7 separate regions of the Homo sapiens genome follow, and regions 2, 3, 4, 5, 6 and 7 are each linked to region 1. Evidence: promoter capture Hi-C in 16 types of primary human blood cells and fetal thymus (Javierre and others, 2016). All regions are on one chromosome and are shown on one strand. Each heading gives the region's core, a stretch centred on a gene start or on the middle of the fragment in contact. The rest is flanking DNA. Distances are from core to core; before and after follow the strand shown. Region 1 holds the start of WDR91 (WD repeat domain 91). Region 2 overlaps LOC124901750 (a long non-coding RNA gene). Region 3 overlaps LOC124901750 (a long non-coding RNA gene). Region 4 overlaps NUP205 (nucleoporin 205). Region 5 overlaps NUP205 (nucleoporin 205). Region 6 overlaps CALD1 (caldesmon 1). Region 7 overlaps CALD1 (caldesmon 1).

Region 1 (4,348 bases), core at 537-3,036:
CCACAATCTTATCCACCTGGCGAGAAACATGGATGGAGAAGGTGGTAAGGGACAGAAGGGAATTCTCCCCTCCATGGAATAAAGCTTTTTCCTCTTGTCATGGCTTCTGGGTGTAAAAAAAAATTTGTAAGTTAGCAATCTATAAAATTTTCAAAACATACTAATGCAACGGTTTTTCAGTAATTTTCTGATGTTAGAGAAGTGGTTTGACCCTCTAGCAAGCACGGAAATTTCAGGTGTAAAAGGGCTCTGGCCCAGAACCTAAGAGATCTGGCTCCAGATCTTGGATCTGCCTCTGACTTACTTGATCAATTTGGCAGTGTCATCAGGCCAGGCACCGTGGCTCACGCCTGTAATCCCAGCATTTTGGGAGGCTGAGGTGGATGGATCACCTGAGGTCAGGAGTTCGAGACCAGCCTTGCCAACATGGTGAAACCCCGACTCTACTAAAAATACAAAAATTAGCTGGACGTGGTGGCACGCGCCTGTAATCCCAGCTACTCGGGAGGCTGAGGCAGGAGAATCGCTTGAACCCAGAAGGCAGAGGTTGCAGTGAGCTGAGATCGTGCCACTGCACTCCAGCCTAAGCGACAGAGTGAGACTTTCTGTCAAAAAAGAAAAAAAAATGGCAGTGTTGCTTAACTGTAGTTTCAGTTACCTCACATTTTTAAAAAAGGGGGTGGGGTGAAGAAGAGCTATGAGACAATCTCCACAATTCCCAGATCCCAAGGATCATGAGGAGGTGCATGGACTGACTCCTTCAAGTCATCAAAGTTCCACGAAGCCGTGGTAGCTGCTCAGAGTGTCAGCCAAGGAAGTCACCTTCTTGTGAGGAGCAATTACAGCAGAGTACAGAATCTGGAAAAGGGTTTGGATATCAATACCAATCCAATGCCCCTAGTTTATAGATCAGGCCACTGAAGCCCAGAGGGGTGAAATGATTTGCTTTTGCCACTAAGTAGCCACTAACTTTGGCCAGGCAGGAAACCAGATCTCCTAACTCCCCTCCAGTGCTCTTGCTGTTAGCTCACTGCCTCTCATTGAAGTCAGTACACACAAACATACAAATCACACACATATACATTCCAAGAACCTCGCAATGGAAAATCATTTTAGAGCAGGGGAAGTTTGGGTTTCTCTAATGTGCCATGAGGTCTTCCACAACTGCAGAAGCAAAATTGCCGATGAGTCCCTGACGAGGCCATTTTAAACAAACACCGCAGATACTTGAACGCAGCTAACGTTTTGGACTGCAGACTTCTTTGCTTCCACTGCCACTGGAAGCCAACACGAATATCTGTTGCCAAAACGCAACCATCTACCTAACCTCGGCTCCTAAAACCTCATCGCCATCCTGGCCAAGGAGGCTGGAGTGGAGACAGAACCCTAGACCAGGAGCCGGGGCATCGGGGCTCCAGCCTCGGCGATGCTCCTGACTCGGGGGGCGGCTTCAGGCAGGTCCTGTCCGTCTGAGGGTCTCAGTTCCTCATCCGTCAAGCTGGGGTCGGACGCGCTGAGGTCTCCGGCGCCCCGGCGCGAGTGACAGCGCCGCTCTCGCCCCGGAGGCAGTGCTGGGGGGAAGCCCGCTCCCCGGCTCCCTCGGGCCGCCTCTGCCCGCGCCGCTCCCGCCGGCCTCTCACCCGGAACCCCTTCTCCTTGTCCGCCTTGATCTCGGCGTCCAGCTGCCGCAGTGTGTGCGTGAACCCGCGGAAGAGCAGGTACTCCCGGACCAGCTCGTCAGTGCGCTCCACGGCCTCCGCCATCGCAGCGCTAGCGTCTTTAGGGGTGGTGCGGTGAGGGACGGAGGGGCGGGGCCTGGGAGAAATGGGGCGGGGCCGGACGCGGGCGCCGAGCACGTCACGCCGCGACAGGCCTACCAGCCCGCACGCACTGGGCGACCAGCCTGAGGCCCCGCCCCTCGGCCGGCTCCCCGCCCGAGGCCCCGCCCCTGAGCCAGCCCCAGCCCGCCTGGCCGCTCGAGTCACCCTTACCCCTCCCGAGGAGTGGCGAGGGGAGGTCCTGGCGGCGCCGGCGGCGGCTTTGTCTGAATTACTGAAAGTGGCGGCTGCCACCCACGTCAAACAAGACTGGATCTTAAGAACATCCCAGGTAGTCCCGAGGCGGGCAGGGGGTGCGGCGCCCTGTTGGTTGGCGTTACATCGCAGAGCTCCCGGTCCCCTGCCCTCCTCCTACACGGAGGAAGCTGGAGCCCTAAGAGCAGAGTGACCTGCGTGAAGCCACAACACGCGTGTCCTCAGAGAGCGCTAACTCCCCCAAATCTCTGCTTTCATTAGTAAGACGAATTGGCTACACAGCAAGATAACCAAGATGCACTGCTAGGATAGGCAAATTTCATAGCAGTGTATGTACGCTATAGTCCTGGTTTCTTGTGAAAAAAAAATTAGGTATGTATGTGTGTACATTTTTTAAATTCAGGAAGATTATACACCAAGTTCCTATGCAGTCGGGTCTCTGCATCCTCGGGTTCCGCATTCACGGATTCAACCAACGAGGATTGAAAATATTTTTTCCAAAGTTTTAAAAATAAAAAATAGCCGGGCGCAGTGGCTCACACTTGTAATCCTAACATTTTGGGAGGCCAGGGTAGGCGGATCTCTTGGCCCCAGGAGTTGGAGACCAGCCTGGACAACATGACGAAACCACATCTCCACAAAAAAAAAAAAAAAAAAAAAATGCGGAGCGCAGTGGCTCACGCCTGCAATCCCAGCACTTTGGGAGGCCGAGGTGGGCGGATCACCTGAGGTCGGGAGTTTGAGACCAGCCTGACCAACATGGAGAAACCCCGTCTCTACTAAAAATACAAGATTAGCCGGGCGTTGTGGCGCATGCCTGTAATCCCAGCTACTCGGGAGGCTGAAGCAGGAGAATCGCTTGAACCCAGAAGGTGGAGGTTGCAGTGAGCCGAAATCGCGCCATTGCATACCAGCCTGGGCAACAAGAGCGAAACTCTGTCTCAAAAAAAAAAAAAAAAAAAAATTAGCCGGGCGTGGTGGTGCTGCCTGTGGTCCCAGCTACTTGGGAGGCTGAGGCAGGAGGATCACTTGAGCCCAGGAGGTCGAGGCTGCAGTGAGCTGTGATTGTACCACTGCACTCCAGCCTGGGTGACAGAGCAGGACACCGTCTCAGTTTAAAAAAGAATACAATTTTTAAAAACACAAATTAAATATAGCATAACAACAATTTACATAACATGTACAATGTATTCAGTATTATAAGCAATGTAGAGATTATTTAAAGTATACAGGAGGAAGTGTATAGGTTAGATGCAAATACTAGGCCTTTTTACATCAGGGCATCCATGGATTTTGGTCTTCTAGGGAGGGTCCTAAAACCAACCCCCTGCAGATACCAAGTGACAATTGGAGTGGTTTTATCTGAGAGGTGAGACTATGAAGGACTTCTTGTTTTTTACTTTCTTTTTATTGTTGAAGTTTTTACAAGGTGCACGTATTTTTGTAAGTAGGAAAATAGCCAATATCTTTGAGACTTGCTTCTGCAGAATGGTGACAATAGGCCGGGCGCGGTGGCTCACGCCTGTAATCCCAGCACTTTGGGAGGCGGAGGCAGGCGGATCACAAGGTCAGGAGATCGAGACCATCCTGGCTAACACGGTGAAATCCCGTCTCTACTAAAAATACAAAAAATTAGCCGGGCGTGGTGGCGGGCGCCTGTAGTCCCAGCTACTCGGGGGGGCTGAGGCAGGAGAATGGCGTAAGCCCGGGAGGCGGAGCTTGCAGTGAGCCGAGATCGCGCCACTTCACTCCAGCCTGGTCGACAGAGCGAGACTCCGTCTCAAAAAAAAAAAAATGGTGACAATAACACCCACCTTGCACAGTAGTAATGAAGATTTAATAAGACAGTGTATGTAAAACGCTTAGCACAGTGAATGGCCTATTGGTAAAATGCATGGAGTGTTCCCTTCTCCTTCCCTCGAATGGTATGACTTTTCGTGTTTGTCAAAATACAACTCAGAATCATTGCTGCCCCTCTGCTCAGACCCTCCACTCCTACTCTATGGAAATTCAGCTCCAAAAGGGCTCTGATCTACACTAGAGAAAGCCAAAAAGATAGCACAGGGCAAGCCACAGCAGGACGAGACAGACCTTGTTCTGCCCTCTTTGTTTGCCCTACCTGTCTCCACAAGTGTACCCTCCAGGCAGCTAAACTTGCCTCAAGGGCAGGAAAGGAGAGTCACCACTGTGACTACTGGGAGACCAACTCCTACTTTGAGATCTCAGATCATCAAAGTGAACTTGGAAAATTTGGACAAGTTGCAACCACCAAAGCTTCCACCTACAGGAAAGTTGTGAAGTAGATTTCCCTAAGG
Region 2 (4,348 bases), core at 1,071-3,570, 510 kb before region 1:
CCTTACAGTTTGATATTTACATGAGAGTCTCTAAAATACAAGGAAATCCAATTGCATTAAAATATTTCTATGCACATATGGTACCCAGGTGCATAATAAAGGTAGACATCATTATCTTAAAAAGAGTGGCATGCAGTTTCTTCCCTGGTTATTCAATCTCTATCTACTCATATACTTTCCAGCATTTTCCCTCTCCCGTCCAGCCTTCAGCCCTACTTGCCGTCTTCCTTTTCCTTGCTATTAAGTTGGTGGTTCACTAAACTCTTACTAAACATGTGCTGTATTACTCCATGTTTTCCAGAGAAACAGAATCAACAAGATATTGATTCAATATATACACATATATATTTGGACATATACATATATATGGAGAGAGACAGAAAGATAGAGAGACAGAGATTGATTCATTTTAAAAGAAAGTGTGGGAACTGCAAGTCTGAAATTTGCAGGCCCAGACCAGCAGGCTGGAAGTTCTGGCAAGAGGTGACATTGCAGACTTGAGTCTGGAGGCAGAATTCCTTCCCCTTTGTAGGGCCTCAGTCTTTTCTCTTAAGGCCTCCAGCTGATTGGATGAGCGTCACCCACATGATGTATGGTAATCTACTCAAAGTCAACTCACTTAAATATCAATTATATCTTTTAAAATACCTTCTCTGCAACATCTAGGCTGATGTTTGACCAAACAACAGTGCATGACGTTTGTTGTGCCCCCAAACTGACACATAAAATCAACCATCACATGTACAGGCACTGTATTAAGCACTAGGGTGTAAAGATAAATATGACCCTGTCCTTAATCTTGAGGAGTTGATGATCAAATGGAGAAGGAAAGGCAGAAAGGAATCATTTTGGTAAATTCCATATTGAGGTATAGATGCAAAGCTGACAAAGGAGTTTGGCCTTGGGCCAGTATGAGAAGGCTACACTTTATTAGGTGCAATTTGAGCTGGCTCCTGAAGGCTGAGAAGAGGCTCGCCCCAAGGAAAGGCGTTCCAGTGATGGAGAAGCAAAAGGATTTGCACTACGTGGGCAACCGTGAATGGCTGGATGCGCTCATGTAAATAGGCAAGTTTTCTGAATAACCCAGCTGATTTCAAATCACGTTTAGCCATTCCTTGTTACAACATTCCTTCAAAAGAGTCATTTAGCTCAACAAACTCATTGTGGTCCTCTTTTAGACAGAAAGCTTCTCTTTCTCAGAAATGTAGCTGAGTGATGGTATTTTCCTTATAAGAAGAGACGTAGATCAGCTCACTGTCATTGTATCTGAACTCGGGGCTCTCCAGAAAGCAACAATTCCTTTTAATTCCTCTCTTACCTCTTTTCATGCCTCAAATCCCACACACATACCTCAAATCCAAAATAATTCAACCATAGCCTTGTGCATTGATGTCACAGGGCTTTCCTCTACTGAGAGGTTGAGCACAAAATCTCTTTAATTCTCCACTCCTTTCAGACTATGAAATGATGTCTGTTGGTGAATTGTTTATACATTCCAACAAAACAAGCCAACAAAAAAAAACTGAATGTAGTTGGCTCTTTTTTTCTCTCTGTGGATTTCAGAAAATTCCATTATGTTGCCAATTAGGCTTCCAAAATGGATGAACAATCTAAAAAAAAAAATCTAGACAGCAACATTATGTAGAGGAACAAGCACTATACTAGGAATCAGAAAAATGAGTTTTTCTTTTTACTTGTTTAAAACCCATTTATGCCTAGTGTTCCATTACTGGAACGCTGAGCACGTGGGAGTTATTTATATCCTACTGCTTAGGGTCATCACCAAGGTCTGATTGCAAAAATTCAAAAATTGCAATCTCGGGTATAAATGGGTTAAATGTTCTCTTATTTTAACCCTTATCTAAGCTGTGTGACCTTAGGAAAGAACATGGCCTCTCTGAGCTTGGATCCTCATCCATGTGGACTCACACTCTCCCAGGTCCTCCCAGTTCCCTGATCATGTTCCTTTCTTTTTTTGCATTTTGTTTTGTTTTGTTTTGTTTTGTTTTGAAATGGAGTCTCGCTCTGTTGCCCAGGCTAGAGTGCAATGGCATGATCTCGGCTCACTGCACCCTCCGCCTCCTGGGTTCAAGCTATTCTCATGTCTCAGCCTCCCAAGTAGCTGGGATTACAGGTGCCCACCACTGCGCCCGGCTAATTTTTGTATTTTTAGTAGAGACGGGTTTTCACCATGTTGGTCAGGTTGGTCTCGAACTCCCGACCTCAGGTGATCCGCCCGCCTCGGCCTCCCAAAGTGCTGGGATTACAGGCGTGAGCCACTGCACCCGGCCTCATGTTCCTTTCTTTCCCCCACTTATTTATAAACTTACATTCTTGAATAGAACATCTTTATTCTTTTGCTTTTCCAGTATGTTAAGGCAGTAAAAAATATTTTTGGAAAATACTTAACTTCATGATTTGCCATATACATTATTTTTTACCTAATCCAGGACTGAAAATAGTTAATTTTTGTAGTTGACCATTCATGTGATGTTCTTTCTTTCCATCTGAAGGTAATGTGGAGGCGACATTAACATAACGAAAGCATGGAAGAAGTAGAAACGTCAGTCTTTAATACTGAGCTTCATAACTCTTCCTTCATATACATCATTGCCAAATCAATGTCGGCATTTCAAATTGCTTTGGGATAGCACACCAGCTTGAGAGGAGTTGAGGTGAAGCCTCTCCTTTTGGTCTTCCTGTTGAATAACTACACTGAAATTCACCAACATAGTCAGTGGTGGGCTTTAGGCCACTGAATTAAACCAAGCTCACTGGCCCCATCTAGGGATCAAAAGCATTTAGCCCATGTTCTAACCATTGAATTAGACATCAAAGGTCCAAAGTTCTGAGACTGGCTTAGAATAACCCTTTACCTCCAGGCGGCATAACCTCCAGAACATTCCTGGAGGATGAACTTTTGGCTTTCACCAGCCTGACTGTTAAGCCAGCCACCATGGAAGATGAAATGTCTCACCAGAAATCACTCCCAGGTGGCAGTTCGTGCCTGTTTCCTCTCACATGGCCATCATGGGACGTCATTCTGGAAATCATTCTGCAGCTGTATGAAACCAGGGCCAAAACCCATTCCCCTACCCTGGAAGCAAGGGAAATATGGATATGGGAGAAATGAAATTTACTGACTATTGGTGATGAGGTGCTGTTGTCAAGGGTAAGAACTGGGCAAAAACTTTAAGAGGCTGAACACCTTTTGTTTTATCAAGAAAACTGTGAAAAACCCAAGGCAAAACAAGCAAGAAGCAAAATGGCCAATAGTTTGTCTCCAGCCAGGCCTCTATAAAGACCAGGAGGAGCAGCCTCCCAGGAGTCAGGGAGATAGATAGGCTATCTTCTTGTCTAGTCACTGTGAGATGACAAGGTCACAGGGTCACTCAGCTTTGTTTGTAGAATCCTGAGCCCCCTAAATCCAGTCTTGGATAGGAGGAGTGGGGAAGAAGCTTTATGGAAGGAGGAGTCTTATCAAGATTCTGGGGGACCCGCAAGTGGCTCTGGGCCTGGGAACAGCCACTCTGCCATATTTGCTAAATACCTGTCACCAGCAGAATCCTGCTCTAGATGCTGAGAGGAGCTACAAGGGCTATGAAAGTTCTCTCCATCATGGAGTTTGAGGTATGAATCGACCCAAAACCAGTCTGTAAAAATGCATGTGATCATGCATTTACTGTCCCCCTCAGCTGCATAGAAAGCTACACTAAAGCTACCCCTGCCACTCAAGGGTGGGACACACCTGCAACTTCAGAGTTGGAAAGCACCCACAGTAATCCCGTTGAACAATCCTCTCCCCGATTTACAGAAGAAACAATACCCATGCAGTTGGGAAGAGGCAGCATGGGAAGAAGAACTCCAGGCTGCTGGAGCCCATGAGAGGTCCGGTCCCGCCCAGGCTGCCTGACTCTTCTTGTGAGTTAGGAGAAGGGAGTGAGAGAGGCCAGAATCCGACCATGTGAGCTTTAATCCCCTTTGTGATATAGTCTGTGCTTACAAATGGTTAAGACAGTGTGTGGCTTTGCCTCTTTTTCTGCCCACATGCTGACAATTTTGTTGAACAAAATTACAAGAATAGCACAAGGATAACCTTTCCCCTGCCCTCTGCATGGGTCTTCCCGACATTGTTATGCTCGCCTGTCTTGTGCTATTAGATCAGCTTTCTTATTGCATCTATGCATTGTGGAACATTCTGGCTACAAGCCTGCGTGCTGGAGCCAGACTGCCTGGGTTCAAATCCCACCACTACCTCTGCTGGCTGTGACGTTTGGCAAGTTCCTTAACCTCTGTCTTCAGTTTTCTTGCCTGAACAGTAAGGAAGGGGATCAGATCCTCTCAAAGG
Region 3 (4,348 bases), core at 818-3,317, 490 kb before region 1:
CATTGTCTTATGGCAGTAACATATTGTAGTAGTTTTAATGAATTAAACTTTCTTGCCTTCAGGTTTATAAATTTTATACGTATATATGTATATGTGTATGAGACAGAGTTTATGTTTATATTTATTTTCCTCTGCCCCACAAGTGGGAATGGGATAATTATGCTTACAATAAGAAATGTATCAAGATAAAAATGACAAGTCTGACCAGGTCGAAGGCCAGTCAATGAAGGCCATGTGTGGAAAATTTTCTCATAAAGTCATGCAGAGACAAGGAAAACATTAATAATTATTTGTCATTGGGATTCACCTTTTATGGAGCTAAAAGTTACTGGATGTACTTCATGCAGTAAAAATTTGCAAAATAGTTTTACGATGCCTGCCAAGTTACAATGGTATTTTGTTTTATTATTATTATTATTATACTTTAAGTTTTAGGGTACATGTGCACAATGTGCAGGTTAGTTACATATGTATACATGTGCCATGCTGGTCTGCTGCAGCCATACAATGGTATTTTGAAACAGAATATAGTGAGAATAAAAATAAGGTTATTGGTATCTTACAGTGTGTCTTGAACTTACTGTACCTAGAAAACGGAATATGAACTAAAATTAAATCTTACAATAAAAAGTCACATTCAGCATGACTCTAAGTAGATGTACTCTGAGGGAAAATGGAATGTACCATCAGGGGTAGTTTTGTTAAACCATCTGTTTAAACAATGCAACTGGCTACTATAAAAATTCAACCACTCTCACTGTCTCATAAGATACTAGCTCAGATGCAAGAATTATCACCCAGTGTGTTTAATGAATCAATTAAAAGGCTGAAATTTTGTGAAATTTTGATAGCTCCAGTGGACAAGACTCTGTGTTGCTTGCTTTTGTATTGTAAGTCCATGCAGGCAAATATGAGAAAGATTTATTATTTTCTAAACTCTTGAAATGTACATGACAGAAGAAGAAACTTTTAGATGTTTGAATCAGTTTTTAACACACCATCAAATAAATTGGCAAAAATATAAGCAAAAATATAAATGGACAGAGTGAAAACAATGTCAGGGAAAAAACTCAGCCAGAAGGGTTCATGTCAACACCATGACCAAAGTGAGTTCAAATATTCATGGCAGGTAGAGTGGATGTGAGCTAGTTATTAAAAAGATGACAGCATCTTTCAAAACTACATTGCACCATGCCTTGCAAATTATCAGTTTTATTAAGGAATAGTATTTATACTGTAGACTTTGATGTGTGATATGGATTATGTGAATAGTGAGTTCTAGAATTTACCTTTTTCACACCAAAGACCAATGCCAAATGAGATAAGAAATCACTGGTCTTCGATTTTTTGTGGTTATTGTTGTTGGTAAACAAGCTCCATTACCATACTATCTCTCAAATATAACAAGGTTTGACCACTGAAGCTTTATATATATACTTATCTTAGACTCTGTCTATCTATCTATCATCTATCTATCTGTCTATAATATATTTAATTTTTAGGACGGTATATTTTTACAGAATAATTGAGCAGAAAGTACAGTGAGTTCCGTCTCTTTCCCCCACCTCAACACACACAGTTTCCCCTAGTGTTAACATCTGACATTAGTGTGGTACACTTGTTAAAACTGATTAATCAAAACCAATAATGCTATTATGAACTAAAATCCATGGTTTAGGGTAGGGTTCATTCTGTGTTGCATAGGTCTATGTGTTTTGACAAATGTATAATGTCATGTATCTGCCATAACAGTGCCATACATAATGGTGTCACCACCCAAAGGACCACTGTAGTTTTAATAAGCTGAAAAAGCCCAATTGGAAAAGCAGAGTGACCTTGGTACCTTGCTTACAATGGCCAAGAAAGCACCAGGAATGAAATCGGAACACATTTCAGTTTCATTCAACACATCGCATTTCATGCAATACCAACTAAATGTACCTGCTTTGATCCTGAGAATGAAGGAAAATAAGGGGATAGAAGGTGGCCAGGCAGAAGGAATGGTGTGATGCAGAGAAAGCACTGGAATCCAGCTGCACTTGGCTGCTCAGACTGGAGCATTCGCCCGCCTCCCTGTGCTCAGGCTCCGGGTCCATAAAGTCAAAGTGAGGAGTTTGACTCCATGATAGGGAAGGCCCTGCCAGCTCCACTTGAAAGAAGGCACAATTATTATAACCAGGGCTTGTATATGTTTAATGGATTGGTAAACATTTTCCTTAAGCCCCAGGATTTTTTTGTGTGTGCCAATTGCCTTTGGAGATTTCAAGAATTAAAAAACAAATGACTAAGAAAACATAAATATGGAGACATATATTTCCGATTTTTAGCTTCTTAGTAAATAACTTGCTTGGACTACAGCTAAAACAAAGAGAAAATGCTAGCAATATAGATGGTTTCTAGATAAAAGAACATTCTTCTTGTCATGGAAAAAAAACAATACTAACTATGTGAATGCTTCCAGAAGGTAGAATTTTCATTTGGTACCTATTTTTCTTTTTCCCTTTTGTTTTTAAACACAGAATCAATCTAAAGTTGGTTCATGGTAAGAGAAGAAAAATGGGAGAGCAGTTTTTTTATAAGTGCCTGTGGATTTATTCTGAAACCCTAAGTTCTAGATTGAAAACATTTTTTTAAATCCTCCTCTTGGGAAAGAAGATGAAATCCAAAGGATTGTGTGAATTTACACTATTAATAATAGCTACCATTTATTGTAAGCTTGATGTCATAAGCACTTTACATGGATTATAACATTCTATCCACTCATCAATCTTATGAAGTAGACACTGTTATTATCTCCATTTTACAGACATGACAAAAAGGCACAGAGAAGTTAAATAGCTTGCCCAAGGTCACTCTGTGGTGGTTAAGCTGGGATTTGAGCCGAGGCAGGTTGACTTCTGAACCTGAGTTTTTAATCACTAAACTCAACTGCTATAAATTACATACTTATATTTATTTGTATACATGTGTTTATTTAATGGGAAAAAAATGTTTCATATAATGATGTATCTGAGATGGGAGCAGAGACAAGTAGTAAAATACAGATGATTTATAAAAGGCTTGTTATGCATTAAAAATGCATAAAACCTGGCCTCAGCTGTTTTAAAATTAGAGTAAATTACTGTACAAATTTCTGTTGCAATCAGAAGACGTTGGCTACTGCTGTTGTTGTGAATAATAAAATTCTTTGTCTCTGACCCAGAAGTCTCATGTCTTATACTGGTTGCTAGTTTTCAAGAAGGGTAAAATCTAAGACCCTTAGCAGTTCTTGACAACTGTTTCTGGAGTTTTTATTTCCCCAAAATATTGTCACTATTGCTTAGATGTCATACCTAGATGAATAACACTTGCCAAATAAATTTTTGAGTCAAGTTGAATGAAATAATTACCTTTTACTGGGAACCTATCAGTGGTTCTCACCCATGCTAGCCTCATGACTACTGTGTACACTATAGAGTATTATCTCCATTTTGCAAATGAAGAAACTGAGGTATAAGGACATTATTTTCCCCAATATCCTACAGCTCACAAATGTTAGAACTAAGGTCTGAAGCTAGTCCAATGTTCTTTCTGCCACTATTGCCTCTTAAAACATTTTAGCTACAGAAATATTAACTTTCAGACCAAATTATGAAGGTCACTGGGAACGGAAAAATGATTGTTTAAAGAGAAAATTTAAGCTTCAGAGAAGAAGGAAAGGGAGAAGTGAAGAATAAATAAGGAAGAAAAAAATAGAAAGAGGAGAGACAAAAAGGGATAAAAAAATATGTCCAAATAACTTTACAGGGCAAATAGAGGGCTGGGGTCCCTACAACAAGAGTTGGGAGCAGAACAGGGTTATGAGGCTCGCCAGAGGAACTTGGTGTAGACCTGTAAAAAGTAGCAGAGCACCCAGGGTGAAGCCTAGGAAGAGCCAAACAGCCAATCTAAATAAAGTACCAATCAGGCAAAGGGCTAGAGTCCAGGGAAATGGGGCAGTCATCATTGTCTCCTAGAAAGAGCAGGCAGAGAACAGCGTCCAGGGAAAGAAACCGGTAGTTTGCGAGGGGGGATAGGAGAGATTTCTCCAAGCACAGGAAGAGTGTAGCTGGGCCCATCAATGGCCATTGTCCGATATGTGTTTGTCCATTTTGTTTTGCTTGGACGTCAACGGCCTTGTGTGTGTGCAAAAAAGAGCTTTTAAGGACCCCAATCTGGTTTGGACAAGGTGACAGAAGCCAAAAGTTACCTTGGTTGAGTCTTAAGGGAATGAATTTTGAGAGTTACCTGTTCAAAAGCCAAAATGTTCAAATCCCGAAATGTTCACATCAATCACCAAAGATGCCCCCGAAATGTTCACATCAATCGC
Region 4 (4,348 bases), core at 1,364-3,863, 440 kb after region 1:
GATTCTTATTGCTGGAGTGGGCCTCTGTGACTGATGGCCATATATTGGATCCCTTAGGTGGAAGGAAATAGAGAAAAGCTGAGAACCCTGGTCTGGACCAGTGAAATGCTTTCTAGGGGCTTCCATTTGCTAAAAGTTGAAAATTGAGTTCCCAATCTTGAGCCGTGTTTTTCATGGTGCTATTGTTATTATTCATTGTCATCAGGTTCCTCCACTGTGTGGTAGATAGGTACTTGCACAGCCGGTATGACTCTGTTTTTTTATCTCTAGATTCCTTCGCCTCAGAAACCAATCTAGATTTTAGAAGTGGGCTGGCTATAGTGAGCCAACATGATTTAGACCAGGTAAGGTTCTATTCTCATATTCTTTTATTTTTCTTCATTAAAGTAAAAGGGCTGGGTGTGATGGTACACATCTGTAATCCCAGCATTTTGGGAGGCCGAGACGGGAGGATTGCTTGAGCCCAGGAGTTTGAGAGCAGTCTGGGCAACATAGTGAGACCCCGTCTCTTAAAAAAAAAAATTGGCATACTGTGGTGGCATGCACCTGTAGTCACAGCTACCTGGGAGGCTGAGGTGGGAGAATCACCTGAGCCTGGGAGACTGAGGCTGCAGTGAGCTGTGATTGCACCACTGCACTCCAGCCTGGGCAACAGAGCAAGACCTTGTCTCCAATAAATGAATGAAAGAGTGAAGCAAGACCTTGTCTCCAATAAATAAATAAATAAATGAATGAATGTAAGTAAGTAAGTAAAAAGGAAAGCCTGGTATGTTAATAAGATTATGATTTTCAGGGTTGCTTACAGACACCTGGTTTGAACTCTAGCTTGACCATTTTAACAGCTATATGACTTTGAACAACTTACTTAACTTCCGAGCCTCAATTGCTTCATCTAAGAAATAGGAGGATTCAACCTCAGAGGGTTTTGTCAGAATTAAGTGAGGTTTCATGTATGTGAGGCTGCTAGTGTTGTACCTAGAACATGGTAAGCATTCCGTGATTGGTAGGCATTATGATCTGGAAACTCCTGATGTCTTTTGATTAGCTTTGTAGAACTTTTTAGGTACAAAGTATCACTCAGCACTTATTTTTCAGGAAATAATTTAATGGTGAGATTGAGAGCAGCCAATACAAATCCCGCCGTCATAGACCATAGTACACAACACTGTGCTCTTACTAACCTGTTGATCAGTAGTGTTAGAATGAATGAAGAGTATGCCAAAAACAATTACAATGAAAACCTCATATTAAACTAATAGCAAAGTTATGTTTCTAACAAAGCAGGTATCAGGGTGTGTGATGTTAGGGAAAATGAATTACAGCTAGATCCTCTGCTAGCCATCTGAATGTCCTTAGCCATGATTTGATAAAGCCTCTGCTCCTCCCAAATCCCTCTTTTTGCTATTTTTCTTAAAACAAGGTTGGGAATGAAAGGTGCAGTTACAGCAGCCTCCAAAGCACAGCTTGCTGGATATCATGAATACCACGCTCCCATCCCAATCCAGACTACATTCGCCCCTTAGTGACTTTATAAAAGGAATTCGTTTTGTGGCTAGGCTTGTTTAGGAGAACTAGTGTTAATTGAGGCCATGTGCAAAATTAGCCAAAGAAGATTATTCAGAAGTTTGTTTGTTTGTTTGTTTTGTCTGAGAGACAAGGTCTCACTCCATTACCCAGGCTGGCATGCAGTGGTGTGACCACAGTTCACTGCAGCCTCAACCCCCTGGGCTCAAGTGATTCTCCCGCCTCAGCATCCTGAGTAGCTAGGACAACAAAAATAAATATATTTTGAAGTAATAACTGTTACTATTTCATTTAGACTGCTTTGTGAAAAAGCTAGAAAAAAATGCAGGATTAATAAATAATCTCACACTCTGTGTTGTGATTTTAATGCAAAACTGAAAACAGGTAGATTGATCTAATATTGTACTTAATTTTAGTCTTTTAGTATAACATCAAAAAGATCCATCTGAAACTACATATGCATTCTAGAATATATATGAATTCTAAAGCATATAACAGGTGTATCCCCACATTAATATTTTTTGAAAACAAAAGCATGCAAGTGGGTTTTTAAAAATTGCAAAATGAAGTAAAAAGTAAAAGCTTCTTTCCCACCTACCCTCCTGTCCTCCCTCCCTCCCTTCCTTCCCTGCATTCTCCTTCCCTCCCTCCCCCGCCAGTCTTACTGACTTCTTGTATGGCCCTTCAGGAAATGTTTTTGTGTGTATGTTAGTATATCAGCATCAGCATCAACATTCATTGCTATTTAAAGCAGGTTTTTAAATTTATACAAGAAAAGAAAGCAGGAAAAACATGAGAATTAAACCAAAAAATTCTAAGGTAGAAAATGTGAATGTTTAGTTAATTTAGTAACACATTACAAAAATTCAAAAGTATTTACATTGAAAGAACCACATTACAAAAATTCTAAAGTGTTTTAAATTGGAAGACTTAGAATAAAAGAAATATTTGAGACAACAATTTTAACAAAATGTCTTTTGTGTCACCGCTAGCTTCAGGCTGATGCAATCAACGCTTTTGGAGAATCACTACAAAAGAAACTTCTGGACATTGAAGGATTATATTCAAAAGTTCGATCTCGATATAGTTTCATACAGGCTCTTGTCAGACGTATCCGTGGCCTCTTGAGGATATCAAGGAACTGAGAGCCCGTGCTTATGCTCTTCTATGAGAGAGATGAATTGGGGAGAATTGTCTCCATTTTATAGATTAGTTTCTTTCTAAATTATGACCAAAAATATTTTGCTATTTCTTTCTTTGTATATGGACATCTTTTCTGTAAACTTCTTCCCCTAGTTCCATCCTCACTAGTAAAAAATAAATACTTTTTAAAAAAACAAAACAAATGTATGGTTAATCTTTTGATCTTTTATCTTTTGATCAGCATTATCAGGAATCTAACAAATAAACCTTCAACAGTGGTGATTTTCCCATAGAGATATTATTCTGAATGCCAGATTAAAGGCATAGTCTGAAAATTCTAATTTTTTCACCCTTTGTAGCTACATTACACTATTAACAATATTCAGGGTTACTAAAATATAGCCATGCTCTTATAGAATAGTGTACTCAATACTGTGAAAATGTCTGAAAAAGTCAAGCTTTTTCCTAAAATTATTTAGGTTTTCCTTTTTTTTGTTTTTTTCTTTTCTGCACGTAAGTTGACAATACAATTGTCCCTTGGTATCTGGTGATTACTGGTTCTAGGGCTCCCACGGATACCAAAACCTATGTTTTGGCATGCATGTTCCTTATATAAAATGGCATTGTGTTTGCATATAATATAGATACATCTTCTTGTATACTTTAAATCATTTCTAGATTACTTACAATACCTAATATAATATGAATTCTATATAAATAGTGGTTAATACTACGTTTTTAAATTTGTATTATTTTTTGCTGTTACACTGGTTTTTTCCCCCCCAAATATTTGTGATCTGTGGTTGGTTGAATCTGCAGATTTTGAACGTGGGGATATGGAGAGCTGACTCTACAGTAATTTGTGTTTGTTCCTTAGAAATGATTGTGAAATTTCTCAAATTAATCATCTGCCAATATTTCTCATATAATTAATATGATGGCTATCACTAGGACAAAACATTTACATGATCACCACTCTATTTCTTACCCAGTTGTTTTCATGTTCAAGTAACTACATCATCCGAAACTGCAAATTTCCTTTTCCAGACAGCAATTACTTCAGCCTAATACATAGGAGAGACTGCTGAGAGGAAGTCTTTGCTTTCATTTAGTAACAGAATAAACGCTATAACACTATAGAATAAAATTGATAATTATTCTATAGTGTCATAGTGTTTTTTTGTTTTGTTTTGTTTTTTGTTTTGTTTTTGAGAAAGAGTCTTGCTCTGTCACCAGGCTGGAGTACAGTGGCATGATCTCGATTCAGCACAACCTCTGCCTTCCAGGTTCAAGCGATTCTTCTGCCTCAGCCTCCCGAGTAGCTGGGACTCCAGGTGTGCGCCACCACACCCAGCTAATTTTTGTATTTTTAGTAGACACGGGGTTTCACCATGTTGGCCAGGATGGTCTCAATCTCCTGACCTTGTGATTCGCTCACCTTGGCCTCCCAAAGTGCTGGGATTACAGGCGTGAGTCTCCGCGCCCAGCCTAGTGTTGTTGTTGTTGTTTTTAAATGCTTACAATAAAACTTCTATGGCTTCCAAGCGTTGGTTTTTGGGTTTTGTGGTTTTTTTTTTTTTTTTTTTTTTGGTGATAGGGTCTTACTCTGTCACCCAGGCTGGAGTGCAGTGGCATGATCGTGGCTCACTGCAACCTCCACCTCCCGGACTCAAGTGACTTT
Region 5 (4,348 bases), core at 1,476-3,975, 360 kb after region 1:
GGTCCTTGCAAGTAAACTCTTAATGTACGTAACAAAAACATGTCACCTGTCTCACTCCAGTGATTCAATGATTTTCTTTTCTAGATATTTTTTAAAGACAGGGTGTTGCTCTGTCCTCCAGACTGGAGTGAAGTGGCCTGATTATAGCTCACTATAGCCTCAAACTCCTGGTTCAAGCGTTCTTCCTGGCTCTTCACTCCTAAGTAGCTGGGACTACAGGTGTGTGCCACCGTGCCCAGCTAATTTTTTTTAGAGATAGGGTCTTGCTATGTTGCCCAGGCTGGTCTTGAACTCCTGGCCTCAGGTGATCTTCCTGCCTTGGTCTCAAAAAGTGTTGGGATTATAGACGTGAGCCACTGTGCCCTGCTGTGATTTTAATGGAATTTTTCTTAGGAGCAATGTTATTCTCTATAGAAGTTAATATTATGTTTATTTCTAGCTAGGAGATAAACTTAATAATATTTGAAGACTATTTAAGAAATTTAGTATATTCCAGAAATATTAACTGCCTTAGAATTTCTGACCTCTAGTTAGTAATACATCTATGCTTGGTAAGATTGATTATTTTGTTTATTTCCAGATGTACGTTAAAATTTTAAGTATTATTTTATAGTAGTTTATAGTATTATGTAAGTTGTGTTAATGGAATGAATTAATTCTTGAGTATTTTTAATTTCTGCATCTTGAAATTCTTTGCAATAGCAATAGGGTACTTTAGTGGAGGGGATTCAAACTTGGAAAATGCTTTTCTTGTTGTTTGGCACTTTTCCTTTGCGTGTATGTGTTTGTGTGTCAGAGTCTCACTCTGTCGTCCAGTCTGGAGTGCAGCGGTGCGATCTTGGCTCACTGCAACCTCCCTCCCGTGTTCAAGCAATCCTCCTTCCTCAGCCTCCAGAGTAGCTGGATTACAGGCGCCTGCCACCATGTCCAGCTAATTTTTTTGTATTAGAGACGTGGTTTCACCACGTTCGCCAGGCTGGTCTTGAACTCCTGGCCTCAAGTGATCTGCCTGTTTCAGCCTCTCAAAGTGCTAGGATTATAGGCATGACCCACCACGCCCAGTCTGGCACTTTTCTTTTATATACAGCAAGGAAGCCATCCAAGAACTATTTATAGGATTGTGTTACCAGAAATGGCTTTTTGCTTTTTAGCTTTTTTTTTTTTTTCTTTTTTTTTCTTTTTTTTTGCTTTCTTTAGTAGAAAGAACCCCAGCCTGGGAACCAGTTGAGCTGATTTCCAGTCTTGGCTGTACCACTAGAGAGTTTTATGACCACAGACAAGTTACCTGACTTAGCTGGATGTCGGTTTTTCTGTCTGCAATAGAGGAGCTAGATTCAATGACCAATGTGTAACCTTTAAGTTCCGAAACTTTAGATGTATGATCTATCAGCTAATTCTGTACTGTACGTCATATGTTAAATATTTGCACCAAATTATCTTTTAGGAAATAAGACTACATTTTATATAACATTAATAAACTGTTACTTGCTCTGCTAAGTAATTAAACAGTTCATATATCCATTTGTTATGTACCATTTGAAGACCTTATTATTTTTATTTATTATGTAATTGAAAAGTTCTGTAGAAACTTGAAAAATAGTATGCTATTTTGTATATTTTCTCCAAATTTTTCAGATCAGAGTTTAGCAGTCACAGTTATTGAGAAGGTAGTATTGGAATAAAAAGTTTAAGGTTATGCAAAATATTACTTCATAAAAGTCTGTTCTAAATTAGCTGATAAGAAATACTTCTGTTTGTCATGTTACCAGGCTGAATTATCATGAATAAGCTTCTGTAGGTAACACTTTGGGACCTTGTCTCCAGTGTGCTATTTTCATAACAATTACAATTTTATCATTGTAGCCAAAAAATGTTCAACAGCATGAGAAGGTTCAGAAAGCCAGTACAGAGGGAGTCGCCATTCAGGGTCAACAGGGAACTCGACTTCTTCCTGAACAGCTCATTAAAGAAGCCTTTATTCTCAGTGACCTTTTTGATATTGGAGAATTGGCAGCTGTTGAGCTTCTTCTTGCTGGTAGGTTGACATTTAACTGAAACAGTGGTAAAATAATGCAAAATTATAAAATCACTCATAGTTTAAAATAGTTTATTGTTTAGATTCTATCATAGTTTCTAAGGCTGCAGTTTGGTAAAACCATATTCAAAATATTTCCTTTTTTAATCTTTGTTGTTTTTTTTTGAGACAGAGTCTCGCTCTGTTGCCCAGGCTGGAGTGCAGTGGCATGATATCGGCTCACTGCAACCTCCACTTACCGGGTTCAAGTGATTCTCATGTCTCAGCCTCCCGAGTAGTTGAGATTACAGGCATGTGCCACCATGCCCGGCTATCCTTTCTTAACCTTTGATTGGAAGGAAGGCTTCAGTTTAGTGATCAGAATTGTTAAAGACATCTCAGAAATTTTATAGCACAAAGCACTTACTGTCAGTGAGTAGGCAGGTAAGGTCACCACTTTTTTGGAATTTCTTTTTGAGAGAGTAATTCAGATAATGCATGAGTAGGTAAAAAATAAGATGATTTCAATAATACAGAGTACTAGGAAGAAAATAAAATAAAGCAGTGAGATATAGAGAGGTGGAGGCTGGCTAGTGCAACTCTAAGTAGGATCCGTAGAGAAGGCCTCTCTAAGATGGTGTCATTTGCCTTGAGACCCAAATGATGAGAAGGTGCCAGCCACCCAGACCTATTGGGTAAGGCTTTTCCGGGGAGAGCAAGCAGCCAGTGCTTGAGGTGGGAATAAAGGCGTGTTTAAGGATAAAAAGATCATTGTGGCTAGAGCATCATAAATGAGAGGGAGAGCAAAGGAAGATGCAGATACAGCAGGAATCAGAGCATGTTTGATTTTGCATGATAATGAAAGGTATTTGGATTTTATTCTAATTGCAATAGAAAGTTGTTGATGAGGGCTTTAAGCAGAGACATTACATAATTCATTCTAACTCTGAAATTATTTCTCTGGCTGCTGTGTAGAGAAAAGAGAGAAAAATTTCTATACTATAAGCAGTTTGTTTTAATTATAATGGAGGAGCCATTTGAAGAAAATATGGGCATGTTAGTTGAACAAAAGTTTAATATGTCTAAAGATAATATATGGCTACCAAAATCCTTTTTGACCTAAGCCTGCACTAAAAGAAGTATGATATTGAGAATGAGGGGGATGTTCACTAGACATGCTTGAGTTTTGAGTTTAACTCGGAACTTTCATTTAACAAACATTTCTTCTATACCTACCATGTGCCAGGCATGGTGTTAATTATATCACTCCAGTGATATAAAGATGAATAAAATCTCAACTAGTGTAAATACGCTCATATTCTAATAATTGAGAATGATGTGGAAACAAATATTTTGACACAATTAAGTACAATTAATGCAGTTTTGTGCAAGATTTAGAGATGGTCCAGAGATTTAGAGATGGTATTAGATGGACCTTGATTGTACAGAGAACTCTTAACAACATCATGAAGTTTAAGGTAGATGTTGCAAAATGAGTAAGCATACATCAGGTGGAATAGGTGGTTATTTGGGAGGATGAAGGGCATCCAGGCAGAAGAAATTGCCTGTGCAAGAGGGTGAAGCAAGGTGATGAATTTGGGGAACAGAAAGGAGTAGAGTGGAGGAGTAGTTGCAGTAAGGGGAAAAGAAAGCTTTAGGAAATGAAACTGAAACTATAGGCAAAGTACTCTTAAAAAAAAAGTGAAACTTAGCCAGGCGTGGTGGCTCACACCTGTAATCCCACCACTTTGGGAGGCCAAGGCAGGTGGATCACGAGGTCAGGAGTTCAAGACCAGCGTGGTCAACATGGTGAAATGCCATCGCTACTAAAAATACAAAAATTAGCTGGGTGCTATGGCAAGTGCCTGTAATCCTAACTACTCAGGAGGCTAAGGCAGGAGAATTGCTTGAACCTAGGCGGCAGAGGTTGCAGTGAGATCACGCCACTGCACTCCAGCCTAGGTGACAGAGTGAGACTCCATCTCAAAAAAAAAGGTAGAACTCATTCAAAGGAGAGTAGTTAAAAGGTGACTGAACTTGAATTATAAAAAGGTTGTTTATTCAGAGAAGATTCCGAGGGAAGAAACTTAGAAATATTTGAAAGATTCCATATGAGATAGTAAAATGGGCATTGAATAAAATTAAATTTAGTGGACAACAGTGAGACCAAAAGATTCTCACCCAGTATGTAGAAATCACAGGTAAGTGTGAGAGTTAGAAATTGAGAGTTTGGAAAATGGTGAATTCCATGTCCCTGCTGGTGTTTAGGGATAAGTTGGATGGCCCTCGAATATGTTGAGCAAGAAGTTAGACAGTGGATGGATGTTTGTAGTA
Region 6 (4,348 bases), core at 747-3,246, 300 kb before region 1:
AAGATCAGAGCATAGTAGAGAAAGTAGCCCTGTAAACAGAGGAGAAGCAGAAAGAGAGAAGGGAGGACAGAGCTTTTATTTTGCTCCAGGTTAAAAAGAAAAAAAAAAAGCACATTACAACTCTATGTTCAGGTGTCTGTCCCAGGTCCTAGAACTGGAATAGACCAACCAAGCCCAACCCTTCTTAAAAGTAAGACTAGGTGCTTCCTGATTATATATTCAACTGCCTGGAAGCATGCAAGTAAAATTTCCTTGATGGCATTTCTAAGTTTCAAACATATTCTTCCTAAAAATGCATTTACAAAAAATATTAGGATTGTGTTTTTTTGGTTTGGACTTTAAAAAAAAATTGTTTTCAAAACCATAATTGTGGCCTACCCCAAATGGATTCTCCTCCCTACAGTGAGGATTTCATTTTTCCAGTCCCCCCCCGCCTTTTCATTTTTGATGAACTGCACATGTTGTGGGAGCCACTCGTGGGCCCTCAGACACGAGCAATCCTTCTGGCCGCTGCCAGTGTCCTAATAAGGGAATGAACAAGCGCCTATTGGTGAGGGAAGGGGAGTCAGGCGGTGGATGATATTTTTGCTGATTAAAGAGGATAAGGTGTGGTTTGGCAGGTATCTCATTGGTTTGGCTGGCTCCAGACCTAGGTTTTTTCTCTTTTTTCAGTTTGAATTCTGTAGAACAGACTGCTAAGAATTGTTTTTTCACAGATCTCTAACTGAGCTTTAGGAATATCATGCTGACACAGTTTATCTATGTTGAAAAAAGATAGGAATTTGGGGTTACATGATGTTTTCATTAAAAGAGGTTGAGGATATAGGTTAAAATCTTCTCGGTCACCAGGCGATGAAGGTGATACTGGACTTGATCAAATTTAGTCATGGAGAGAACAAGGGATATACCATTGGATATATTTAACACATGTTTAAAAAGTTTTAAACATTTATCTATGCAACAATATTAAGTAACACCTACTTTTGCTTGTAAATATTTATATTCTCCAATTTTAAAATAATAAAAGAAACAAAAAGAGCCTGGCACTTAGGATCATAGTGATGAGTTGCTCATCTATTTCCTGTCTGATCACTAAATACCTGCCAGTGACTCCTCTCTCCACTCTATTTTCTGAATGACTCGACACTGCCTTTTAACTTAACTGCATCTGGTCCACAGTGTTCTTAAGTCACTCATTATACGTCAGTGTTTCTCACATGAGCTGCAGGCTGGAATCATTTGGGGAGCTTTCAAAAGTTCTAATGTCTAGATCAGACCTCGAGCAGGATTCTGGTTTAATTGATTTGGGGCATGGCCTGGGCATCAGGATTCTTAGGCACTTCTCCAGGCAATTCTAATGTGCAGCTGAGGTTGAGGACCTCGAGAAGCAACTGCTACTCTGAAATGCATCCTCTATTGGATCATCTGGCCCCGTAAAGGGCCAGGCAGTTTTTCTTCCTGACATTTTGAAACCTCTCAAGAAAATACTATATATATATATATATGAAACAAGTTAGACAGGTTTCCTCCCAAGTTGGTAGATTCAGTTCGGTTGTTTAAAACTCAACAGTAGAGAATTGTGCTTTCAACCAAAATCAACTTCTAGACACATGGGTATTGTTTAAACTTTATTTTCCATGCATATAAGGAGTGAAGTACTCTGCCAGGTAGTTGAAAACAGTATCCATTTCAAAGTCATAAGTAATGAGATGAGATTTTTTATATTTTCTCTGTGTCCCTGCAAGTTATTCATCCCTTGATATTTAATTTAGTTAATACATGCCTCTTATTTTACTTTTTCTTATAATATTAAGCCAACTTCACATCCTGGAATTGTGAAATTGCTGTAGCAAGGATAGGATGATATGATCGAGAAGTTTAAAAAAAATTTTCAGATTATCAATTTTTAAAAGTAAGAGGATATGGAAGTGCAGTGCCTGCATGGAGAGAAGTTTTGAATTTTGAAAGAATTTTGGATTAATCAGGTGTCTAGAATTACTCATTACTCTCAGCTTCCTTACTGGATATTTCATTACCAAGGAAGAAGGCCATTTAGAAATTCAGGAGTGCAAAGGCTGGGCGTGGTGGCTCACGCCTGTAATCCTAGCATTTTGGGAGGCCAAGGTGGATGGATCACCTGAGGTCAGGAGTTCGAGACCAGCCTGGCCAACACAGTGAAACCCTGTCTCTACTAAAAATACAAAAATTAGCTGGGCATGGTGGCAGGCACCTGTAATCCCACCTACTTGGGAGGCTGAGGCAGGAGAATTGCCTGAACCGGTGAGGTGGAAATTGCAGTGAGCCAAGATCACGCCATTGCACTCCAGCCTGGGAGCCTGGGTGACAAGAGCAAAACGCAGTCTCAAAAAAAAAGGAACTTCGTTTGGAAGTGCAGACTGAGCTGGGAATATAAATTAGAGAATCCTCACCTTAAAACTGACAGACAAGTTATAAACATAGATGATATTATCCAAGGAGCATATGTTGGATAGGAGAAGAAAGGAGTTGAGGAAGAAACCCAATAAAAGGTACAAAAGAAACTACAAAATAAATTTAAAAACAGAGAATCTCAAAAAGGGAGATGTGGTCAACAGTGTCAGAGCTCTCTGTGGGATCAAGTAAGATTGAGAGCACAAAGGGACATTGGACAATTTGTCTCAAAGGACAGCTTAGAAAGCACAAGCCCATAACACAATGTCATTTTGGAGTTAGGGCTACTAATACCTGGATCAAAAATATTGAATATAGTCAATATAGTGTTCCGATATATTTAATAATGAAACTGAACTGTTCTTTTGATATTTTGATCAACTGGTCAAGTGATTAAGATGTCTGGAACTAAAAATCACTAGCCCCGTAGAGATCCATCTCAAGATGATTTTAGGTCAACTACCAAGTAGGTTAAACTAACTGATAAACCTAACTCCAAAATTGAATGTAAACTGACAAGACAGCCCGTGATAGGGTGGATTTAACTATTTTGGGCTATTAATGACTTATCCATTGAATTTCAGAACCAGTTTTGGCTACAGCACATGAAAATATTTCCAAAGGACTGCTAAATCAAACATGCTCAGTTTACCTAGTTGTACTGAGTTCTTTTTGCTTCCCACAGACATTGCAAAAGGCCAAAACTAACACTAGGCTTGATAGTGAAAAGAGAAAGAATATAAGAAATTTGCAAGGGAAGATGGTGCAGGAGGAGTTATGGAGGTAAAAAGGCATGTGCTGGAGTTGCAGGAAAATATAGAACTGCTCTATTCATGAGCCAAGCCAAGGCCAATCACATGACAATAAAAAAGACTGATGGCACATGCACACACGTACACACACACACACACACGCTCTTGAAGCAGGCCAAAGTCCACAGTCTCACTGGAAAACACCAGTTGACTCCGTTTGACTTTAGCACCTGATCATTGACTAGGTTCAAAAGTCAAATACTTTTCCTGTCCATAATCACTTGGTCTTCTTAGTAAGTAAAATATCCATTTTCCAGCTCTGAACTCAAGGGGATTTTCTGCATATAGTTGCAACATAATGCCATCTCCAGAGAAAGTAACATGGGAATGAGAAGCAAAGAAATGCATTAAAACATTTGCATTCTGGACCAATGAGCAAAATGCACCAAGAACCTACCTAAGCAAACACTGGCAAGAAAGTTTGTGGCTAGTAATTGCTTCTGACTATTGGCAGGAAGGAATTGAAAGAAGTGCAAAGTGTTGGGGGTTCCATCTCCTGTATTTTTTTCTAAAAATTCTTCTGTCTCCAAGCCTAGCTTTTAGTAGGCTGCCGCCGCCACTCCTCGGTTGGTTTAATATGGTTTTGTCATGATGATGAAACTGAAACCTGAGAGGTCATTTCCTTTTTCTTTTTTTTTTTTTTTTTTTTGGTGAATGATCAGGCTTCACCTTCTGGAACTGATGGTCAGAAAGCGAGCCCTGCAGCCCATAGCAACATGGCAGCAGGTGTAGCCAGGTATTCCTGGTTCATATCCATGAGCCAGTATGAAGTGTCTGCTTTTAAAGCCACTCACAAAACTTCCAACAGAGTGTATGTGTGCTCTGTGTGTGTGCACATGCTTTGGTTTTGGGGATGACCTTCTCCCGCCTCTGTTACTGAGAGAAGATAAAGCTGTAATAACTTTAAACACCATTTTTGCAGTAAATACTCATAAGCCTAGCATAGAATTGTCAGCCTTTCCCTACACATGGACTGGAGTCATATTTCATTGATCTGCCTTTTAAGGAAGCACTGTTGTTCTGTATATGACACTAAAACTTTTAAGTCTTGGAGTATTTGGCCTTTCCATGTTCTGATTTAGATGAATCCACATGAGCTTAGGCAG
Region 7 (4,348 bases), core at 1,211-3,710, 260 kb before region 1:
AGAGTCTCGCTTTGTTGCCCAGGCTGGAGTGCAGTGGCACAATCTCGGCTCACTGCAACCCCTGCCTCCTGGGCTCAAGCAATTCTCCTGCCTCAGCCTCCAGAGTAGCTGGGACCACAGGCACACGCCGCCACGCCCGGCTAATTTTTTTTTTTTTGTATTTTAGTAGAGACAGGGTTTCACTGTGTTGCCCAGGCTGTCTTAAACTCCTGAGCTCAGGCAATCCGCCCGCCTCGGCCTCCCAAAGTGCTAGGATTACAGGCGTGAGCCACTGCACCCGGCCTCTCCTTCCTTTTTAAGGCTGAATAATATTCCATGGTATGGCTAGACCACCTTTTATTTATCCATTCCTGCTATGATGGACACTTGGGTTGCGTCCATCTCTTGGTCCTTGTAAATAATGCTGCTATGAACACGGGTATACAAATGTCTCTTCAAGACCTTGCTTTCCATTCTTTTAGAAGTGTATCAGAAGTGGGATTGCTGGATCACGTGGTAGTTCTCTTGTTGATTTTTTGAGGAACCTCCATACTGTTTCCATAGCAGCTGCACAACTTTACAATCCCATTTTACAGTGCATATTTGTCCCATTTTACAGCTGAGGAAACGAAGCACAAGTGGAAGAGCAGAGGCTCCTGGACTCTGTGATTCCGGGCAGACCCCTTCCCCAGCCTACCCCCTGGGCTAATGAGAGGCAGTGGGTATTTAGTCGGGGATGCAGAAGCCGCAGACCGACCTCCCCTTCCTCCAGGGAGACTACAGGCAAAAGCATGTAAACCCCTTTCCATTGCCCCCCAACCACAGCCGCCCTGGAGGGAGGGCCAGCGTGGACACCAAGGAGGCTGAGGGCGCCCCCCAGGTGGAAGCCGGCAAAAGGCTGGAGGAGCTTCGTCGTCGTCGCGGGGAGACCGAGAGCGAAGAGTTCGAGAAGCTCAAACAGAAGCAGCAGGAGGCGGCTTTGGAGCTGGAGGAACTCAAGAAAAAGAGGGAGGAGAGAAGGAAGGTCCTGGAGGAGGAAGAGCAGAGGAGGAAGCAGGAGGAAGCCGATCGAAAACTCAGAGAGGAGGTAAGGCGGGCGCTAGCCCACTGAGAACGTTGCCCGGGAAAATTCCCTAGTGCCGTGCGGCTGTTCTTTTGAGCATGGGCTCTCAAAAATATTTTTTTAAGAATAATAAACTTACCATGTGCTAGGTACTGTTTTATAACTTGTAGATGTATTAATTTGTCCACTGCTTCTAAGAACTCGCTGACCTAGGTACTAATCCCCATTTTACAGATGAGAAAACTGAGGCACAGAGAGGTTTTGTTTTTGTTTTTGTTTTTGTTTGTAACTTTCCCAAGGTCTCCCTTGAGTCTGCCTGACATGCAGGAGGAGCCCCATCATTAAAACCCTTTACTGCCTCTCAAAAAGGAAAAGTTAGAAAGCTGAAAAGGATGAAAGGTCTGCAAATTAGTTACCAGAATGAAGTTATGGTTTTCTAATAGTTGGAGAGTTTTTATAGAGAAGATTTTTTTAAATCTTTTTTTTTTTTTAATGAGCAAGTAAGTACATTAGAATATAAAGAGGCAGGGACAGTATCTGCGTTGTTCATTACTGTATACCCAGGACCCCATACCGTGCCTGACATGCAGGAAGAGCCCCATCATTATAAACAGATGGATTTGTTTCATCTTTTAAGACAGAGCTAAAAACAGCAGATAGAGTTACAAGGAGGAACATTTTGGCTCAGCATATGAAATAATGTTTAACCAACTACAACTTACAGTACTACAGTTTACAAAGTGCATTCTTTCATTTCATCCTGAGGTACATCGTTCTCATTTTATGGGCAAAGAAACCAGGAATCAAATAGTTTGAGTGACTTATTTGAAGATTCTTGACTAATAAATGGTAGAATCAGTAAGGAGACCCCGCTTTTCCAACTCAGAGCCCAGAGCTTTTGAGATAGCGATCTCCCATCATTCAAAATATGAAGAAAAAAAAAGACTTTCAATGGCATTTTGACAAGGATCCTATGCAAAATTTTCCTGAACTGTATGGAAAATTTGGATACATTATTTTGAGGTCTCTTTTAACTCCAACTTTCAATGAGCCAATGACCTTTGGTTGGGAAGTATGGGAAGTAATCAGGATGATAGAGTTTGGGGGTTAAACACACCCCAGGCTTTTTTTTTTTTATTGTTTTTTTAGACATAGTCTTGCTCTGTCACCCAGGCTGGAGTGCAGGAATGCAGTGGTGCAATCTCGGAACACACCCAGTCTTCTATCCTAACTCTGTCACTAACAAGCTGGGGCCTTGGGAAAACTGGACTACTCTGTGTCTTCTTTTCCTTATCTGTGAAATAATATCTACTTTGCAGGATTCTTCCAATAATTTAATAGATCATTGTGCTCCCAGTGCCTGGCACATTCTAGGCACTCAAAAATTAGTAGGTATCATTATTGCCATCATTGTTATTATGATTATTATTCAGAGGAGGAGAGTATCAGGAAAGGCTGAAGAGAAATCACGAAGTCTTAGAACTGGATTGGACCTAGGAGATTATTTGGGCTAAACTACCAAACACAGGATCCTTCTGTGACATCCTCTGACAGATGAACATCTAGTCTCTGCTTGAGAACATGCAGTGATAATGATCTCACAGCTTAAGAACTACCAAAGACTGCATTAAATCTCTCAGAAAATCAAGTTGTGCAACTTGATCAGAGCCCTGATAGAGAAGACAGAGTATTCTAGACTAGGAATGAAGACACAGAGGGGTTAATGAGACAGTCTGTAAACATTTGCAATTGCACTACCATGGTTCAACGTCTAGAGCATTTCAGGTTTGTCAAACCATCTAAAATTATATATTCACTTGAAGCGGGGAGCAACCATAAAATCACCTCTTGTACCATCTGGCAAATATAGTACCACAGATTTAGATAGCTTTTCACATAAGTTATTCATTTGTCTTCACAACTCTCCTAGGATGTAGGTAGAAGGAATATTCATATCCCTTTTACATATACAGAAGTGTGAGGTCATTGTTAATGACCCACAGGATGGTGGTGATTATGTATCATCCTATGGGAAATCATCATAATGAGTGTTAGTCTAAGCCAGGGGTGTCCAATCTTTTGGCTTCCCTGGGTCACATTGGAAGAAGAATTGCCTTGGGCCACACATAAAATACACTAACACTAATGATCGCTGATGAGCCAAAAAAAAAAAAAATCACAAAAAGGTCTCATAATGTTTTAAGAAAGTTTACGAATTTGTGTTAGGCTACATTCAAAGCCATCCTGGGCATGATGTGGCCCCTGGGCCATGGGTTGGACAAGTTTGGTGTAAGCATTTTACATGTGCTATCTCACTGAGCCCTCACGAAAGCCCTAAAAAATGAGTACTATTGTTATCCCTGTTTTACAGATGAAGAAACTGAGCCACAGAGCAGATAAATAACATGGCCAAGGTCAGGCAGTTGGAAAGTAGCAGCACCAGAATGCAAATGCAGGCAGCTCGACTCCAGCTCTCAGGCTAAACCTCTGGTGACCACCTAGAAGGGGAGTGTCCAGCCTGCGGCCTGAGTCTGCTGCCTCTCCAACTGTGCTCTCTCTCCTACAGCACTCTTCCCTTTGGCTGTGAAGCTGGTACTGATGCCTCGTTATTTGTTCTTTCTCTCTTAGGAAGAGAAGAGGAGGCTAAAGGAAGAGATTGAAAGGCGAAGAGCAGAAGCTGCTGAGAAACGCCAGAAGATGCCAGAAGATGGCTTGTCAGATGACAAGAAACCATTCAAGTGTTTCACTCCTAAAGGTTCATCTCTCAAGGTATTTTTTTCCCCAGAAAACTTCTATTAGAATATGATAGAGACTGGATTTTAGCCCCTTGTTTAGTTATTGATTATACAGGGCCTTTGTTCATTTATCTTTTTGCTATCCTTCCAAGTTAATCTGTTCAGGCTGCTATAACAAAATACTTTAGACTGGGGCCAGGCACGGTGGCTCATGCCTGTAATCCCAGCACTTTGGGAGGCAGATGTGGGCAGATCACCTGAGGTCAGGAGTTCGAGACCAGCCTGGCCACCGTGGTGAAACCCCATCTCTACCAAAAATTCAAAAACTAGCCGGACGTGGTGGCACACACCTGTAATAATCTCAGCTACTTGGGAGGCTTAGGCAGGAGAATCACTTGAACCCAGGAGGCAGAGGTTGCAGTGAGCTAAGATAATGCCACTGCACTCTAGCCTGGGCAACAGAGCAAGATTCCATCTCAAAATTTATCACTCACAGTTTTGGAGGCTGGAAAGTCAAAGATCAAGGTGCCAGCAGATGTGGTGTCTAGTGAGGGCCTATTCCTCATAGGTG

The links. Contacts are between HindIII fragments. The CHiCAGO score rates a contact against its expected background, and 5 or more counts as called.
Region 2: a contact is called between a fragment that was not itself captured here and the fragment with the promoter of WDR91 in region 1, in 4 of 17 cell types (naive CD8 T cells, total CD8 T cells, activated CD4 T cells and 1 more). The highest score is 5.7, in naive CD8 T cells.
Region 3: a fragment that was not itself captured here is called in contact with the fragment with the promoter of WDR91 in region 1 in 1 of 17 cell types (naive CD4 T cells); the score reaches 7.7 in naive CD4 T cells.
Region 4: a contact is called between a fragment that was not itself captured here and the fragment with the promoter of WDR91 in region 1, in 2 of 17 cell types (M1 macrophages and M0 macrophages). The highest score is 5.7, in M1 macrophages.
Region 5: a contact is called between a fragment that was not itself captured here and the fragment with the promoter of WDR91 in region 1, in 1 of 17 cell types (naive CD4 T cells). The highest score is 5.5, in naive CD4 T cells.
Region 6: a contact is called between a fragment that was not itself captured here and the fragment with the promoter of WDR91 in region 1, in 1 of 17 cell types (neutrophils). The highest score is 5.2, in neutrophils.
Region 7: a contact is called between a fragment that was not itself captured here and the fragment with the promoter of WDR91 in region 1, in 3 of 17 cell types (naive CD4 T cells, megakaryocytes and naive B cells). The highest score is 6.2, in naive CD4 T cells.

Annotation. Positions count from the first base shown.
Region 1 is chr7:135,209,740-135,214,087 of GRCh38, forward strand. It overlaps WDR91 (WD repeat domain 91), which reads right to left and starts at 1,787. Exons shown (of 15, transcript NM_014149.4): 1 at 1,641-1,787; 2 at 1-16. The coding sequence starts at 1,763. RefSeq lists an enhancer at 1-319 and a silencer at 1,490-2,029. The HindIII fragment of the contact is 4,223 bases long and covers 83-4,305 here.
Region 2 is chr7:134,698,676-134,703,023 of GRCh38, forward strand. All of the region lies in intron 1 of LOC124901750 (a long non-coding RNA gene), which reads right to left. Among named protein-coding and RNA genes, the nearest start is that of BPGM, 54 kb to the left of the region's middle. RefSeq lists a silencer at 4,222-4,348. The HindIII fragment of the contact is 2,272 bases long and covers 1,185-3,456 here.
Region 3 is chr7:134,715,555-134,719,902 of GRCh38, forward strand. All of the region lies in intron 1 of LOC124901750 (a long non-coding RNA gene), which reads right to left. It also overlaps a transcript of CALD1 not described here. Among named protein-coding and RNA genes, the nearest start is that of CALD1, 62 kb to the right of the region's middle. The HindIII fragment of the contact is 1,292 bases long and covers 1,422-2,713 here.
Region 4 is chr7:135,645,888-135,650,235 of GRCh38, forward strand. NUP205 (nucleoporin 205) reads left to right here. Exons shown (of 43, transcript NM_015135.3): 42 at 271-344; 43 at 2,517-2,866. The coding sequence ends at 2,669. Among named protein-coding and RNA genes, the nearest start is that of STMP1, 14 kb to the right of the region's middle. The HindIII fragment of the contact is 1,019 bases long and covers 2,105-3,123 here.
Region 5 is chr7:135,571,791-135,576,138 of GRCh38, forward strand. It overlaps NUP205 (nucleoporin 205), which reads left to right. Exons shown (of 43, transcript NM_015135.3): 3 at 1,864-2,035. Among named protein-coding and RNA genes, the nearest start is that of NUP205, 16 kb to the left of the region's middle. The HindIII fragment of the contact is 1,877 bases long and covers 1,788-3,664 here.
Region 6 is chr7:134,907,328-134,911,675 of GRCh38, forward strand. The region is part of intron 3 of CALD1 (caldesmon 1); the gene reads left to right. Among named protein-coding and RNA genes, the nearest start is that of AGBL3, 77 kb to the right of the region's middle. RefSeq lists silencers at 1,124-1,173, 1,184-1,233. The HindIII fragment of the contact is 5,578 bases long and covers 1-4,348 here.
Region 7 is chr7:134,946,704-134,951,051 of GRCh38, forward strand. It overlaps CALD1 (caldesmon 1), which reads left to right. Exons shown (of 15, transcript NM_033138.4): 8 at 805-1,066; 9 at 3,671-3,811. Among named protein-coding and RNA genes, the nearest start is that of AGBL3, 38 kb to the right of the region's middle. The HindIII fragment of the contact is 7,816 bases long and covers 1-4,348 here.